Linked DNA regions of Homo sapiens: regions 1 and 3 are each linked to region 2. Evidence: promoter capture Hi-C in human tissues and cell types (Jung and others, 2019). All regions are on one chromosome and are shown on one strand. The core of a region is centred on a gene start or on the middle of the fragment in contact, and the rest is flanking DNA. Distances in the headings are between cores, read along the strand shown.

Region 1 (2,700 bases), core at 122-2,621, 87 kb after region 2:
GGGTGGTGTGAGGGATTGGGGCAATGAGCCGAGGGCCCTGGGGTGACTGTTTCCCCTTTGCCACCTCCCCCCAGTGTGGGATGTGGAACAAGTCCGTCTCTCTCCTCCCCTCCACCCTTTCCCCCATCTCACCTGAGCCTCCTGCACCTTCCCTGCCTGGGTCTCCAGAGGGTGAGAGGCTGGGGGAGGGGAGCAGAGGTGGTTACAGTGGGGAGAACGATTAAGGGGGGAATAAAGGGGTTCAAATGGTCAGTGAGGGGGCAAGAACACCCACCAACCTAGTTACACTGGGATGGGATGGTGGTAAAAATGGAGCAGAGGGAGGGAGGGGACGGAGAAAAGATCTTATCTACATGCAAAGTGATGCCGGGAGAGGTGATTAGTGAGGGGCAGAGAGGCTGGAGAGGAAGATTTAGGGGGACAGGGAGAAAGTAGGGGCTTTTGCCCAGGCTGGTCTTGAACTCCTGGGCTCAAGCGATCCAACCACCTTGGCCTCCCAAAGTACTGGGATTACAAGCATGAGCCATTGTTTCTGGCCCTGACTTACTTTCTTTCTTTTTTACTTTTTAGAGAAAGGGTCTCGCTCATGTCACCCAGGTTGGAGTGCAATAGTGCGATCATAGCTCACTGCAGCCTCAAATTCCTGGGCTCAAGCGATCCTCCTCCTCCTACCTAGGGGATTCAGGGCATGAAGGAACACTCAGGAGGAGTTAGGAAGGACACGACAGTGTGTGAGTGTGTGTGCGGGGAGGGTTAGATTTACAAGGCAGAGGGAAGTTTAGAAAGGAAAAGAGAAGGGAAGAGACGCTTTGGCTGGGAGGCAGGTTTAGGAGGGAGGTGCAGTGGTGCAGTGGAGGCGGTAGGTTTAGGAGAGGCGCGGAACAAGGGGAAGCCATAGGAGGGGTCAGCAGGGGTCCCTCAGCATCCTCTGGTTGCCTCTAACAATCAGGTACCCATAGCAAGCGGGACCGGGGCAACTTATGTTCTTTGCAGCGAGGGACCTTAGCAACCAAGGTGCGAGAAACACGCGATCATTGGCAACTTGGCAAGTGGATGTGGTAAACGAACCCTGAACACACTGCGACCCAGAAACCCACCAGCCTAGCGATACAGATCGCTAAGCAACAGCCCTCAGAATCCCACTCCCCGAAGCGCTCCCTACTTCCCGCCCCACCGCGGCCACCCTTGGGCCCCGGGGCCTGCAGCATTCAGCCAGGCCCCGGCGCGGCCCGACCCTCCTACCCGGATCCCCGACTCACGGTCTGGCTCTGCCATGGGCGCGGTGCTGAAGCCCTTGAGGCTGTCACCGACCGCTCTGTCCCGTCACCAACCACTGTGTCCCGTCACCGACTGCTCTGTCCTGTCACCGACTGCTCTGTCCCGTGACGGCACCAGAAATGGGAGTGGCCGTGATAGGGCACAGAACTACAACTCTCAGCAGACATTGCGGCCGCAGACGCGCTTTCGTACAACACCCAGAGCGCCCCAGTTAGGTAAGAAAGCGCGCGAGGACCGGACTACGAGTCCCAGAAGGCGTGGCGTCAGCAGCCATGTTGGTAAAGGGCGCCCGGAAAATGTGGGAACGGCTAGAGAGTTGTAGTCCTCCCGAATACTCTGATTGGTCAGGATGCAGTACGAGGGCGGGGTGTGAGCGATTCAGCATATTATCATTGGGTGAATCAGGGGGCGTGGTGGGGAATTTCCCGCAGGGCGGAAGCTCCAGAACTCCCGGCAAAGCCCAGCTACAGGCGGGCGACTGCGGGGGGCCCCTGAGGCGGCGGGGGCCATGGCTGGGGTCGCGTGCTTGGGAAAAGCTGCCGACGCAGATGAATGGTGCGACAGCGGCCTGGGCTCCCTGGGTCCGGACGCAGCGGCCCCCGGAGGACCTGGGTTGGGCGCGGAGTTGGGCCCGGGGCTGTCGTGGGCTCCCCTCGTCTTCGGCTACGTCACTGAGGATGGGGACACGTGAGTGAACCTTAGGCTGCCAAACGGAGCCCTAGGACCCGGCGTCACATTCCTCATTAATCTCTGATCCCTGAGGCTTCCTAACCTCATACTCCTAAATCTGACTTCCGATGCTGAACTTCCTGACCTCTAACCCCCGAGTCCTAACTTTTAACAAAACCAATCTTCTATCTAGCTATGATCCTAACCCAATCATTTCTTACCTTCTTTTCTTGAACTATGATTCTCAGCTCCTGGAATCCACATTGTATCCACTGATACCCAAACCTGACTCCAGTCCTGAGACTTCTGTTAGAACTGTGGCTTCTCCTGACTTCTAACCTCCAAATATGATCTTTGATTCTTAGTTCCCGATTTGAGCCCTAGAGTTTGATTTCCGAAATTAATACTTGGTCCCTGACTCTAAGATCCTGTCTTCTGAGCAGTGTTCTTCAAATCTTAAATTCAAAGAGAGAGAATGTAAGCTCTTCTATGTTGAATTCCTAATTAAAGTAAAAAAATAGGAAAATTAAAAAAAAGAATGTTAGCTCCATGAGACCAAGGATTCATCTGTTAAACAAATATTCTTTACACATTACCACGTTCCAGGCTCCGTTTAGGTGCTAGTGATAAAGGCAGTGAAGAAAACAAACAAAAACTTAAGCCCTTGTGGAGCATACATTTTAGTGGAGCTAAATAAACAGATTGATAAGACCACAAGGAAGGAAAGAAATGGAAAGACAGGAAGAAACAAAG
Region 2 (2,700 bases), core at 1-2,500:
TCAACGTGTTAAGGCCCTTTTTAAAAAGCTAAGACTGGGCCAGGCGCAGTGGCTCACGCCTGTAATCCCAGCACTTTGGGAGGCCGAGATGGGAGGATCACTTGAGGTCAGGAGTTCGAGACCAGCCTGACCAACATGGTGAAACCCCATCTCTACTAAAAATACAAAAATTAGCCAGTGTGCTGGCACATGCCTGTAATCCCAGCTACTCAAGAGGCTGAGGCAGGAGAATCGCTTGAACCTGGGAGACAGAGGTTGCAGTGAGCCAAGATCATGCCATTGCACTCCAGCCTGGGCGACAAGAGCAAAACTCCATCTCAAAACAAAAAAAAAAACAAAAAAAACAAAAACAGAAAAGAAAAGAAAATGAAGCACAGAGAGGTATAGTCACTTTCACTCTTTCACCAACACAGAGCTGGGGAGTGGCAGAGCTGGGATTTTAACTCGGGGACCCGGCTCTGAGCCTGTGATCTGAATTCCTGCCATTGCACCCATCAGCTTCAGTCTAATGTCCAACTCAGGGACTGCCTCTCACGGTGAGCCCTCCCTGAACCTTCTGGCCCCCACGTCCCCACTCCTGATCTGCCCCAGATTCATCTCTGGCTATTGGGTGGGGCAGAAAAAGAGTCCCCTCTCCACCAGGGTGGGGTAAGGGCAGAAAGCCCCCAACAGCCAGGCCCAGAGCACCCAGTTGGAAGTCCCCTGCCAGCCCGGCCTGGCTTGGGGAGGGTCTTACCGCTTCATGTGCTCGCTGGCCACTCCTTGGATGTAAACAGACATTCCCACGTTGAGCCCGCCCGGGATGGGCTGGTAGTAAGGCAGCGTCTGGAGAAGAGGCCTGGTGAGGGGACTCACAAGCCATCTGCCTGTTGCAGCCTTTACCCCTCCCAGAAAAGCCCCCCAGTCCCTTAAGCAGGAGAGAGGAAACCATGGGGGAGGACCAGGTTGAAGATGACGAGGGCCAACAGTTAGACGTGGACACAGACAGCCTGAGGTCAGGGTAGGAGTAAATCGAGGGTCGGGGTCAGCTTTGGGTAAATCAGACCACAGAGTCAGATGGGGCCCCCCAGGATCAGAGTGGGGAAAATTGGTGTGAGGGCTTATGGACGGAGCTGCGGGCGGAGTGGGGCCTGAGCTGGCATCTCACCGGGTTGTAGGTGGGCTGGTAGCCCGGTGCGGGGACATAGGCCATCGCTCGAGGCTGCGCTAGTGGCTGGTCCTGTGAGAAGAGCTGCAGGAGTGGGAGATGGTGGCGGATGGCAGGCGGTGGTGGCTCTTATACCCAGGGTAAGGGAGTGGCTGGCAGGGGAGGGTCCACAGGGCTCCTCTTCTGGGACTCTCAGGCTGTCGGCTTCTCCTAGAGCGCACCCTAGTCTCCCTTCCCTTGCCAGCTTCCCTGGTGACCAGCCAGGACCCAAATCACCTGGGTCCCCTCCCCTACGCCCTCCTGCAAAGAGGAAGTGCTCATGAACTTCGGCCCTGCCAGGGCCTTATCAGAGCCCATAAAACCCTGCCCAGACTTCTGTTGGCAGAGGGAGGGTGAGACCAGGCAGGGCAGGGCAGGCTGCAGGAATGACCCAGGACAGGTGGGCAGCGGAGGAGGAGAACGCGGAGGAACTGCAAATTCCTGCCTCTCCCAGCAACTGTGAAGGGACCTACGTTGATTGCGTGCCCACCACACATCTTTACCACGTATGTTGTATTGTAGGGAGAGTGGTTTAGATTACTAGTGTGTGGAGCCAGAGGTTCTAGGTTCAAATCCTGCCTTTGCCACTTCTCAGCTGTATGATCATGGGTCAGTGCCTTACCCTCAATTTGCCCATGTGCTCATCTGTAAAATGGGGATATAGTAGTATCGGCTGGGTGCAGTGGCTCATGCCTGTAATCCCAGCACTTTGACTGGCCGAGGTGGATGGATCACCTGAGGGCAGGAGTTCGAGACCAGCCTGGCAAAATCCCAGTCTCTACTAAAAATACAAAAATTAGCCAGGCATGGTGGTGGGTGCCTATAATCCCATCTACTTGGAGGCTGAGGCAGGAGAATCACTTGAACCTGAGTGGAGGAGAGTGCAGTGAGCCAAGGTCACGCCACTGCACTCCAGCTTGGATGACAGATGGAGACTCTGTTTCAAAAAAAAAAAAAAAAAAAAAGGAATTCATAAGAGAGGAAACAAGTATTGAATAGCTATCAAAATATTTTAAAAATGAATTTGTGATCCAGTAATGCCTGTATGTTATTAATCTGCCAAATAAGTTCTAGCTGTGGGTCCAACTGCCACTCAGAAAAATAAATAAATAAAGAAAAGAGTAGTATCAACCTTAGGCTGGGTGTGGTGGCTTGTGCCTACAATCCCAGCAATTTGGGAAGCTGAAGCAGGAGGACTGCTTGAGCCCAGGAGTTCAAGACCAGCCTGGGCAACATAGTGAGACCCCCATCTCTACAAAAATAAAATAAAAATTAGCTGGGCATGGTAGCACACATCTGTATTCCTAGCTACTCAGAGGCTGAGGCAGGAGGATCGCTTGAACCCAGGAGTTAAGGTTACAGTGAGCTATGATCATGCCACTGCACTCCAGCCTGGGTGACAGACTAAGAGTCCGTCTCTAAAAATAGCAACAATAATAGTCATAATAATAATAATCATAATAGTATCAACTTCATAGAGTCCTTGATCATTAAGATAATAAATGCTCAGAACA
Region 3 (2,700 bases), core at 138-2,637, 120 kb after region 2:
ATCTGCACACTATACAAAGACAAACAACACAGAGTAAAAGCACAATCATCATTGAAATCACAGAGCCTCCAAGTGTTTTTATCCATTTGAATGGGTTACTAGCTGCTAATCTGTCTGCAGCTCCTTCAAGCACTCCAGTTCCTGGCATTAAGTTCACGTGTGCCTGGGATACTTTAAATATTTGTTCTTTCAATTTTGCAATATCCAAATACAAGTTTGTAGAGTGGCCTTCTAGATGCTTTTTTATTCTTTCCCAAATTTTGATTTTATTAAGAGCTATTAACAGTTTCCACAAATGCTTATGTTTAGCTCCTAGAGCAGGCCATATCATTTGAGGCTGAGGTGCCACTATACTGCCATGGTTCCAGATAATAGGAACTCTTGCTGTATTTCTTACCATTTCTATCATCTGACCATTTTGTTCAGATGAGCTGATCACAGTGTGGCCATGGCATGCAGACTGAGAGGTGCAGTTCAAGCTAAACATCCCCATAGGTGACCAATTAATAATGATTCCATAGGAATTGTTGTGCAGCACCTCTGCCTGTTCTGCAAAGCAATCTTCCTAAACAAGTACGTTCATTTTTGCTAACTGGGTCCAATCCTGTTTACAAATATGTTTTTGAGGGCAGTATGCCTCAATTATAGGAGCAGATTTATTATGAGATCAGAAAGCTTGTATAACTGTGTCATAGAGTGATTACATCCAGGCATTATTGCCAGCCAAGATTGATAAATATGCCCAATAAGTATAATTGTCCTCTGTGTCAGCCCTTATTGAAGGAATACTCATGGCAGTGGTGATCATCGCTATCATAGCTACCATTAAATTACTCATTGCGACTGGTTGTCCCACTTTCCTCAGGTTTTCTTCCACCATCTGTGACAGCTTCTTGATCTGTCTCCAGGTGGGTGGCTGTGTTTGACAGGTGTTGCTCGTGACAGTTGGGGTCTTCCTCAGCGTCAGTCTCGACATGGCTGCAACCGGGGGTGGGGGGGGTCCTCAGTTTCCTCCCGGAATCTCTTCCTCAGCATCTGGCTCATGATAAGGTTTCAGGTGTCTTGATGGTATCCAAATCGGCTGTTGAGTCAGTCCTGGAGAAACACAAGCATAACCTCTACCCCAAGTTATTATTTTACCTATTTCCTAACTTTTTGTTATTGGATCTCTCCACCAAACTAGTTGTTCTGCTTCTGTCTTTGCAGCTGGTTTCTGTAGATGCTGTTCAGCTACTGATAGGATCTGGCCTTTAGGCAGGCTCAAAAAATTTAAAGTTAACAATGCTAGATTCAGTTGCATATGGGGTGTCCCGTAGTCCTTGTTTTCCCCCCTTTTTTTTGCTTTTGCAACTGCTGTTTCAGGGAGAGATTCATTCTTTCCACTATGGCTTGTCCTTGAGAATTATATGGGATACCAGTAATGTGTTTAATATTCCGTATAGAGAAAAATGTAGCTAGAGCTCGGCTAGTGTAGCCTGGGGCTTTATCTGTTTTAATAGAAGCTGGAATGCCCATCACTGCAAAACACTGCAAAAGGTGACGCCTGGAAGAGGTGTATGAGCCCTAATGTGAGTGATGTAAAAAGGGTGCATTCTACTCCTAACTGCTGTTTGCAGTTGGGTAAATAAAATCATCAGTTGTTCATCTGCAGGAAATTGTAACTGAGCATTTTCAGTTAATTGTGTGGAATGAATCACGTATGAAGAGTCAGAAATCACATTAATAGGCATATGAAAAGCAGTCACTACCTCAATTACAGCTACAGGCTCCACTTTTTGAGCTGAAGTATAGGGCATCTGAAAAACTTTACTTTTTGAGCCAGAATAAGAAGCTTTACCATTACTAGACCCATCTGTAAAAACATTTTCAGCACCTTCAATTGGTTTAAATTTAGTTATTTTAGGGAGAATCCAATTAGTTAATTTCAAAAATTAAAACAGTTTTGTTTAGGAAAATGGTTATCGAGAATACCCACAAAGTCAGCTTAATTGGTTTGCCAAGTAAGACTATTTATAAAAGCTTGCTGTATTTGTGCCTTTGTGAGAGGGATAATAATTTTTCCAGGATCATATCCATGTAATTTAACAATCCGAGTTCTCCCATTTCCTATCATAGTAGCAATTTGATCCAAATAAGGAGTTAGAGTCCGTGAATTAGTATGTGGAAGAAAAAGCCACTCTACAAGATCTCACTCTTGAACAATAACACCAGTAGGTGAATGCTGAGTTGGAAAAATTAGCAAATCTAGAGTCTTCTCTGGATCTAATCTATTTATTTGAGCTTTATGGACTTGCTTTTCGATTAGCCGCAGCTCTGCCTCAGCTTCTCTTGTTAATTACCGAGGGCTTGTGAGACCAGGATCTCCTCTAAGGATAGAAAATAGATTACTCATGGCATAGGTAGGAATGCCTAGAGCAGGTCGTATCCAATTAATGTCCCCTAGTAATTTTTGAAAGTCCTTTAATGTTTTCAATTGATTCCTATGTATGGTTGCTTTCTGTGGCACAATGGTAGTGTCATTTACTAAGGTCCCCAAGTAGGAGTAAGGAGTAGTAGTCTGAATTTTGTCAGGAGCTATAATTAAACCAGCGCAAGAAATCGAATTTTGTAAGTGATCATAACATTGGAGTAATACTTCTCGAGTGGGGGCAGCACAAAGTATATCATCCATATAATGAATAATGTAACACTGTGAAAACT

The links. Contacts are between HindIII fragments. The study calls those that stand out against the background at their distance.
Region 1: the fragment with the promoter of SIRT2 here is called in contact with the fragment with the promoter of LGALS4 in region 2 in 3 of the 25 tissues and cell types used here (aorta, liver and spleen).
Region 3: a fragment that was not itself captured here is called in contact with the fragment with the promoter of LGALS4 in region 2 in 5 of the 25 tissues and cell types used here (dorsolateral prefrontal cortex, lymphoblastoid cells, mesenchymal stem cells and 2 more).

Annotation. Positions count from the first base shown.
Region 1 is chr19:38,898,247-38,900,946 of GRCh38, forward strand. SIRT2 (sirtuin 2) reads right to left here and starts at 1,372. Exons shown (of 16, transcript NM_012237.4): 1 at 1,260-1,372; 2 at 133-179. The coding sequence starts at 1,275. NFKBIB (NFKB inhibitor beta) reads left to right here and starts at 1,723. Exons shown (of 6, transcript NM_002503.5): 1 at 1,723-1,965. The coding sequence starts at 1,787. The HindIII fragment of the contact is 18,718 bases long and covers 1-2,700 here.
Region 2 is chr19:38,811,695-38,814,394 of GRCh38, forward strand. LGALS4 (galectin 4) reads right to left here and starts at 1,251. Exons shown (of 10, transcript NM_006149.4): 1 at 1,148-1,251; 2 at 737-825. The coding sequence starts at 1,192. The HindIII fragment of the contact is 29,723 bases long and covers 1-2,700 here.
Region 3 is chr19:38,935,758-38,938,457 of GRCh38, forward strand. It overlaps LOC124904713 (a long non-coding RNA gene), which reads right to left. Exons shown (of 2, transcript XR_007067253.1): 2 at 1-1,095. Among named protein-coding and RNA genes, the nearest start is that of MRPS12, 6.2 kb to the left of the region's middle. The HindIII fragment of the contact is 4,061 bases long and covers 1-2,700 here.